3 separate regions of the Homo sapiens genome follow, and all the other regions are linked to region 1. Evidence: promoter capture Hi-C in 16 types of primary human blood cells and fetal thymus (Javierre and others, 2016). All regions are on one chromosome and are shown on one strand. Each heading gives the region's core, a stretch centred on a gene start or on the middle of the fragment in contact. The rest is flanking DNA. Distances are from core to core; before and after follow the strand shown.

What was found. The method cuts DNA at HindIII sites, captures the fragments that hold promoters and counts their contacts. A CHiCAGO score of 5 or more calls a contact.
Region 2: a fragment that was not itself captured here is called in contact with the fragment with the promoter of PRMT3 in region 1 in 1 of 17 cell types (total B cells); the score reaches 5.4 in total B cells.
Region 3: a fragment that was not itself captured here is called in contact with the fragment with the promoter of PRMT3 in region 1 in 1 of 17 cell types (total CD8 T cells); the score reaches 9.7 in total CD8 T cells.

The regions. Positions count from the first base shown.
Region 1 is chr11:20,386,434-20,389,133 of GRCh38, reverse strand. It overlaps PRMT3 (protein arginine methyltransferase 3), which reads right to left and starts at 1,418. Exons shown (of 16, transcript NM_005788.4): 1 at 1,360-1,418; 2 at 980-1,115. The coding sequence starts at 1,387. RefSeq lists enhancers at 548-597, 453-1,059, 1,060-1,667, 1,541-1,710 and a silencer at 1,148-1,707. The HindIII fragment of the contact is 3,061 bases long and covers 772-2,700 here.
Region 2 is chr11:13,460,521-13,463,433 of GRCh38, reverse strand. BTBD10 (BTB domain containing 10) reads left to right here and starts at 212. Exons shown (of 9, transcript NM_032320.7): 1 at 212-342. RefSeq lists an enhancer at 1-32. The HindIII fragment of the contact is 860 bases long and covers 821-1,680 here.
Region 3 is chr11:27,360,253-27,362,952 of GRCh38, reverse strand. CCDC34 (coiled-coil domain containing 34) reads left to right here. Exons shown (of 6, transcript NM_030771.2): 1 at 1-117. Among named protein-coding and RNA genes, the nearest start is that of CCDC34, 1.6 kb to the left of the region's middle. RefSeq lists an enhancer at 1-344 and a silencer at 1,637-1,931. The HindIII fragment of the contact is 3,738 bases long and covers 1-2,700 here.

The DNA of each region.
Region 1 (2,700 bases), core at 169-2,668:
ATTCCTAACACATGTGGAGCATTAGTTTTCCACAAATGTTTACCGAGATAGGTTATGTCGACTATTTATGGAGGCTATCACAGCCACGGTACCACTGGTGCTCAATAAATATTTTATGACAACTAGAATATATACAGGCATTCTATCTACCCAATGGGGCTACAGATGAGAACACTAACGCACCACCACTCAGCACCATGCCCAGATACAGGGAACACTGGAAAATGTATTAAAGTAACACCGGCCAATGCCAACCGGGCCTCTTTCATGCCTACTTGCCTAGGACAGGAGCCAAAGCTTCCCAAGACTAACAGGCAGAATTTTAAGTGGCAAGAATGTGAGTTTGGAAATAAGCACACCACAGCTTTGTGACCTTGAGCAAATTATTGATACTACAGTCTTTTTCCTTAAGTGAAAAGTCCTACTTAAGTAAGGTGAACTTCCTTCTTAGACTATGGAAACCGCTCAAATAAAAAAGAAATGTTTCACCTGAGAAGCTCTGTACTGGTCAAAGAATTAGCATGGTAAAGCCGGAAGGCTCCGTAGGGATTATCTAGTTCAGGGTGGCTGCCAAATATGTTACTCGTTAGTAGTAACTCGTTAGTAACTTCACTGTTACTTCCGATCTTGTCCTCATAAAAACAGAATATTCTTAGACCCCATCCCTGACTTGGAAGGATTCAGGTGCAGAGTTCAGTATCATTTTGTTTTCAGCGTCTCAAGTGACAAGATTTGGGAACCACAGATTCAATGCACTACCAGTCAAAAGCTTGCAGTACAACCGGCCTTCCAGTTCACGGTTCCCCCTCTCTACTACCGAGGGTCCTCCTTCTCCACAAGCCCTCACCCCAGACCAGTGGTTCCAGAATTCAAAGACAGGCCACTCTGGCTTGCCTCCCGCCCGAAGGCGTTCCTGGGCACACAGACCCCACGCGCCCGGGCACCCTAGGGCAGAGGCCAGGCGCTGAGGCGGACGAACCTGTTACAGAACAGGCAGGGGGTCTGCTGCTTGCCGTGGGGGAGATCTGCATCGTCCTCATCCTCCCAGGCGGCCTCGTCCCCGCTGTCCGACAGTTCTGGCAGGTCCTCCTCATTCTCCACAGCGCCCCGGCCGCCTAACACACACACACAACAATCAGATCGGCCTCGGACACCGGTGCGGCCCGGGGGCTCGAGGAGCAGGTGACGATGGGCTCTCCTCCGCCCCGTTCGCCCGCGGCCCTCACTCAGCACCTCCTTCATGATCCCTGCGAGCCCCCCACCCTGCCCGGGCCCGTGTCCCGGAGGGTCTTCCACCGGCCCCACAGCGGCGCGGCCTGGGGCTGGACGAGCCGGGTGCTGAGGGGCCAGGGTACCCACCGGTAGCGCCTGACGCTAACGAGCACATGGCTGTGGTGCCCCGAGAGCCCGGCGTGTCTGGGGGCGGGGACCGGGTTGGGCAACGAGCGCGCGCAGCGGCCGCCGACTCCAGGAACGAGCGCGAGCACAAGCGCGAACCCGCGGCGGGACCCGGGCTCCGGAAACTTCGCAGACCGCCGGGAACGCCGAAGCGCGCGCGCTGGCTCGCAATCGCTTCCGGCCTCGAGGCGCCGTGCGGGTCACGTGAGGTGGGGGCGGGGCGAGAGCGGGGGCTCCGCCTCCTCCTGCCGCAGGGTTGGCGCAGTGCGCGCTGAAGAGGCGCGCTGATGACGGTTAATGTTGCAGCCCGGAAGATGACTTTTGTCTCCTCCTTGGGTTGCGGCAGGCGTTAGTGGGAGGTCGCGGCCCGCTGCTGTGAGCCCCAAGGCAGAGAGACGTCGCTGCGGTTTTGGGGTTGGCATCCTGTCCTCTGTGCGCCCCTTTTTCCTGGGATGAGCGGTTAGCGGAGGGGCGATCGGCCCATGACGCCCTCTGGTGGCGGAGGAGGCCAAACGCTGGAGGCTCGGCTGGTTTCTGGGCTCCCAGGTCCTGGAGGGGGTGCAGCTGGCGAGAGGGAACGAACTGCATGGGCCAGGGTGGGTCTACTGCAGGGACAGATAGGTGTCAAACCCCCCAAGACGGATTTTAATCTTTGGTTAAGTGAGAACGTGAACTCTAGAGGCAGCCTGCTGGGTTTGAATCCTACCCACGTCACTTTGTAACTGTGATCTTGGGCAAGTTACTCGACCTCTCTCTGCCTCAGTTTCATCAAATACAAAACAAGGATAATAACTGCACTTGGGCAGGGCACGGTGGCTCACGTCTATAGTACCAGCACTTTGGGAGGCTGAGGCGGGCGGATCACCTGAGGTCAGGAGTTGGAGACCAGCCTGGCCAACATGGTGAAACCCTGTCCCTACTAAAAATACAAAAATTAACCAGGTGTGGTGGCACGCGCCTGCAATCCCAGCTACTTGGGAGGCTGAGGCAGGAGAATTGCTTGAGCCCGGGAGGCGGAGCTTGTGGTGAGCCGAGATTGTGCCACCGTACTCCAGCCTGGGCAACAGAGCAAGACTCCATCTTAAAAAAAAAAAAACAAAAAACAAAAAACCTGGACTAACTTCAGAACTACAGTAAGGATAAAACGAGTTAATACATGTAAAGTGCTCAGACATAACTATTTAAGCCAGGGAGTGATGCTCTCAGATGTGTTGAGAAAGTAACAATCTGGCTGCTGTGTGGGGAAGAACACAAATGTTCCCCTGCCTGCCTCATGCCACGTCCCTTTCTTCCTTTCCTTAT
Region 2 (2,913 bases), core at 1-2,500, 6.9 Mb after region 1:
GGTCGCGCGGCGCCTTCCTCTCCACGCGCCTGAGATCCCACCCGTGGCCGCCGCGCCCTCAACTGCCTTCTCCTTCGGTGCCCCGCCCACCCCTGGGCGGAGAGCACCGTTCTCGCGAGAACGCTGCTGGCCTCGCCTCTTCGCATTGTGAGCTCTCGCGGTAAGAGGCTGAGGAGCCGGCCTGCAACCTGCCGGGGCGGCTCCGCTACGCGCAGCCGCCTCAGTGGCTTCCTCCACAGCCACCTCCGGAGGGATCTGGCTGAGGAGGAAGTGGAGGTGTCACTGGCCCCGGCCTTTGCCCCAATCTTGTGTGGGCACTGAAGGGGGACTACAGGTTCGAGAGTGAGTGGACTCAGCTGGGGAACTCGGCGGGGGCGGCGCGGGAGGCTGGGCTTGGCCGGGGCGAAAGAGGAAAGGGGCGGAGGGCGAATCTGGGCGTGAGAGCCAGGCTGCTGCGGCGGTGGTCTGGGCGGCCGGACCCTGCTCGGGTACCGTGGGTGGCGTTTTGGGCTCCGGCCACGAGCACCCAATTAGGAGAGGCCGGGATAAGACTTGAGTTTTGCGGCTGCTGCTTTTGGGTTGGGAGTCCGGGGGCCTTTCTCCGGGGATGAAGGCGATACCCTCATCCCTTTCCAGGGCAGAGGAACCCCGTGCCCCGCCCCTTTCCTGTCATCTCAGACGAACGCAGCGACATCCTGAGGAAGGCGCATCACAATAGGGGATAAGGTGGTGGGCAGCCTCCCTCTGGGTGAAGAGGAGTGAGACCCCACTAACGTGCTGCGTGGTTTTATGTTGTAACCATTTTACGTGTGGTAAAGCTTTGTTTTCTTAAAACTTGCACGGAAAAGGTTCTGATGTCTTTCTTCTTCAGATGCAGGTGCCCTGACACCCTTATCTTTGGGAATGGGGCGGGGGAAGGTGAGACATCGGTTAGTAATTTGTTAGTGTGGGCCAGTGTGACTGTCCCTGGGCCTCACAGATTTCCTGCTTCTCCTTTCTCAGTATTCTGAGTCCATGATGAAAAGTCACTAGTCCAGACATGCTGAAAGATAGAGCTTCACTTGCTTGTGGCTTTGTGCACTTAGTAAACAAGATTATTTTACGAAGATTTATTATCTTGCAGAGTTTTCATGCTTTTTATTTAAATTAGCAATCTAAATGAAACAGCACAGGATATTAATTGTATTTGGACAACTGAGTTCCTTCCCGCCCCTATCCTCCCAACCCCCCAACTACACAAATTTGATCAAAATCTTTTAGAGAGGGGGTTAGGGATAAATTTTCAATGAAAGAGACTGTGGAAATCGGAATAAGAGATATAATAAAGAATGCAGCCATAACGGCCAAAAGAGTTTCTGTATTAGAGAGCCTGTCCAGGATTGAAGTTCAGTCCTGAAACCCAGGACTGCAGTTGTCATTTGAATATAAAGCGGAAAGCAGTAGAAAATACTTGGGAAGGGATTTGAAAGTGGACCAAGACTGGTAAAAAAAAAAAAAAAAAAAGTGTGAGAAGAATTATTTCTGATGATGTAAATGTGTTTTATAAATTTTCCCAATATTTCTCAGCGTGTATGACCTAACAGCTATTATATTAATACATACAAAGTAGGAAGGAAGTTTCTGAAGCATGGAATGTGGTAAGGAACCACCAGAGAGTAACAGTGTTCAATCAGGAAAGCTTTTAGTGTTTCAACAATGTTTTTGTGTTCGTTCACCTTTTTTCTCACTCCCAGAAAAGCTTTCAGATAGACTTCTAACCCTATGTAATTATGTTACCCTTCCACCAGTCTGAATTTTCTTCTTTCTCACTCCCTCTAAGCCATGTGAATTTTTTAAATTATTAACTATGGAGTTGCAAACCACTGTGGTCTGCTTTTGGCTTTTTATAATAGGTGACTTAGGGAAGTATGGAAGTGATATGGAAAATATTGTGCACCTTTCAAAGCCATAGCATGAGCAACAAACTCACATGCCTTCGGGTACTAGTTAGATAATGAAAATGAGGGAAATGCACTATGCCTTATCAGAGAGACATCCAAGTCTCAGGTCCCCCTAATCAGTGCTATATAAGAATATGGACCCCATCTTCAGCATTCTCAAGAGAACTCGGAAATCTAGATTTTTGCATTCAGTGTCTTGCGTCTTAAAAATATTGACAACTAATTAAAACCATTAAAAATATCATGTGACTGAATCAAATCCAAACCTGTCCATAGTTGTATTCTCCTCTCCAGTTTAGAAGCTCTGTTATAAATCAAAATTAATAAATTTTATGACTGGAAAAAAAGGAGGTTTAAAGCAAGTTTGGAGTTTCAAACTTAAGGGGTCTTGGGAAAAATGTCACATCTAATTGAAAACAGTAGTTAAGTTTAATAGCCTTTAAGTATAGTTATAGTAGGGCAATTTGAACTGGTATTTACTATAAACGTTTTAACTGTGGAAATAACTGAAGAAAAAGCATCTCAGTATTTATGGTTTAAAAACTCAGAGTTCTGAGCAAAGCTGATTTATAGGTATCTTGTACAGAAATTGAATTATTTAGAAGCTCTTTATTGTATTTGCAGCTAATATATAAAATTAAATACAAGAGACCCTCTACAGTCCATTTCAGGATTTGAATGTTTATTGTTTGCTGTGCTATCCCACATTGTCTTCCTAGGCATTGACTTACTGGAAGAAATACTGATCCCTTGGATTTTATTCCATGCCAGATGGAGATTGGAGGGGTTTGGCAACAGGATGGAAAGAACTGGGTGGAGAAAGTGTGATGTGAAGCAAACACTCTTGTGCCCCTTCCTTACATTGTTCATTAAAAGATTGATTTGTGTTAGTTTTTCTTGTAAGAAGGATAGGTATATTAATTGATTAAACTTAGTGCCTTATACATAGTAGAGTTTAATGACGTGTGGAATT
Region 3 (2,700 bases), core at 149-2,648, 7.0 Mb before region 1:
CGGTGACGGGGAGGATGAGGAAGACGTGGATGATGAGGAAGACGTGGATGAAGATGCCCATGATTCAGAGGCCAAAGTGGCGAGCCTGAGAGGAATGGAGTTACAGGGGTGCGCCAGGTAAACCCGAGGCCGCCCGGCCGATTCAGCCCTTTTCAAGATTCCTTAGACCCTCTTAAGTACCCCCTTCTAACATCCTCCTGCCCTCCGCCCCAAAGGCAGAGCAGGCACTTGCAGACTGAGGTGCCGTGGTTTTTTTTGCACATAAAGAGCCCTGTGCAAATTCTTGCAAATGACCATAGATTTCCTATGGCTCTTAATCCTTTTTTCCTGAGATATTATGATTGCTGCAGTCTCACTTCCCAGAAAAATGTACATAGTCTCAAACACACAAAACTCTGCTACCATTTCAGGCGTTCTATGAATCCTCAAAAGCCAGATTGTGCACTGCAGAACTCTTATCCCAAACCTGAACACCAGAACGTGGTTTACTGCACCTTAGTAGTACCTGTGGTTGGTTATTCTGAAAACATACTGATTGCTAGTGAAGTAGGTTGTAGTAAACAGGTCACTTTTTATAACATAAAGTGCTGAAGCACAGAGATTAGCAATGTCAACCTCAGCATGTGGAGACGTGGTTAGAGAGGATCTGAGCATGCACAGAGGAATGGATGTCATTGTATCAATGTTAGGACCAATGGGGTTATTAAAACTGTCTTAATTTGTTTATTTCTACTGTTACTCACTCAGCAAACATTGTTTGCCACATATTAGTCTACGTACTGGGGACCGTAAACAAGATACTGGTCTCTACTCTCATGAATTGAAGCCTAAATCAATCCACTTATTTTACAGATAATAAAACCATGGCTCAGAATGCAAAAAGTGACTCAAAGGCATGCACCTAGTTATTAGCAGACCTGGGTCTACTACGAAGATAGACAGATCATGTTCTCTTTCCTAAACTGCATGCCTAGTATTGGGTATACAGAAGTAGGAGCAAAGGGCCAATCCCTGAAGGAATATTTCTGAGACAGGCCCAGTAATGCAGGTCTATTCTGGGATAGACTCATTACGTTTTCTTCGGAAATCATTTACAAGTTTATGATTGTCAAGCTGTGTAAGGCACAGTACAGGAGCTCTAAGAAATACAGGCCAGAGAACTCATGCTTTATGTGTAAATAGCAAGATTCCCCCTTCAGTACAGGGTGTTCATATCCAGCATGAGTGAATGGAATATGGAACCCATATGAAGTAACCCGTATACATGGTTACAGGAGTGAATTAGTTACGAATGAGAAGTAAAAGTAAGTACATTGGTGGGAATGGAGATCAGAAAGAGTAACCAAGCAAGCCACTCATCCAGGCTGGTTGTAGCAACAAGAAACAGGCCTCCTCTGATCAACCTGATAGTAAAATTTAATGGTAGAGTTAGGGTTTCAGTAAATTGTTTTCATCTGGGCCTTTGTAGGTATTCTTCAGGACTGAGTTGGTCTCAAAGGTATTTAAAGTAAATTTGAAGGCTTTAGGAAATACTTTCTGAGCATAATCAACTGGACTAAGCAATCTGGACACAAGTTAGTGACCTGCGGAATAAATGACCATCGGAACTATAGCTCAGCTACTGAAACCTTGCATTAGTTTCCAAGAGCCAAAGCCCTGACTAAGTGGAGCCTGCCAGGGGAGGAGGTGAACGTATGTACGTCTCACTTATCCAAAGCCAGAATGAGCTGGTAGCACCACAGGGCTAAGGCTGCCTTCCTTATCACATTTCAGTCCCTATGAATCAAAGGAGTAGCTGGGACGTGGGTTTGAAAAGAGAATGCTGAAGTTGTCAAGCATTGTGTGTGGCAAGTGTCAGATGCTTATTAGGTGCTCAATAAACGTTTGCTGACTGCATGTCCATTTCCCACTTCCTAAAGAACAGATACATGCAGTGATTATTGTCAAATGCTTCAGAAACTTAGCACTTCCTTTCAGGAAAGGTAGATTTTTAGAAAATTTCCTCATTCTTTCTCTCCATTGGTCCTAACATTCTTTGATACAATGACATCCATTCCTCTGTGCATGCTCAGATCCTATCTAACCATGTCTCCACATGCTGAGGTTGACATTGCTAATCTCTGTGCTTCAGCACTTTGTGTTATAAAAAGTGACCTGTTTACTACAACCTACTTCACTAGCAATCAGTATGTTTTCAGAATAACCAACCACAGGTACTACTAAGGTGCAGTAAACCACGTTCTGGTGTTCAGGTTTGGGATAAGAGTTCTGGAGTCCACAATCTGGCTTTTGAGGTCAAACTGCTGACCTCTCTTTGGTGCCCTGGACAGCTTGGGGGTGACAGGATGAAGAGAGCAGGCAACCTGAGTCAGCCCTTTCATTGTTCTGGGTTTTGAGTATTCTGTGTGAAGCAGAGAGCAACCTAGAGCTGTGTGGGATTTTATGCCTTTTCTCCATGCCTCACCTGCCATATTGATCTGACTGGCAAAACGAATCGGGTAAGGCTTCTTTGAGCTAGGCTCAGGCATCAGCTGCACATAATGGATATTACCTCAAGGTATTTTTGGTATAAATAGTGCCATGTTTAGAGGATGCATTGACCTTCAAGGGTATTGGTCAGAACTGAGATTAAGCTCAAAGTTAGCTTCAGACAAGATAATGAGAAGCGTTTTCCTGGAATATTTTACAATGTGCTCTGGG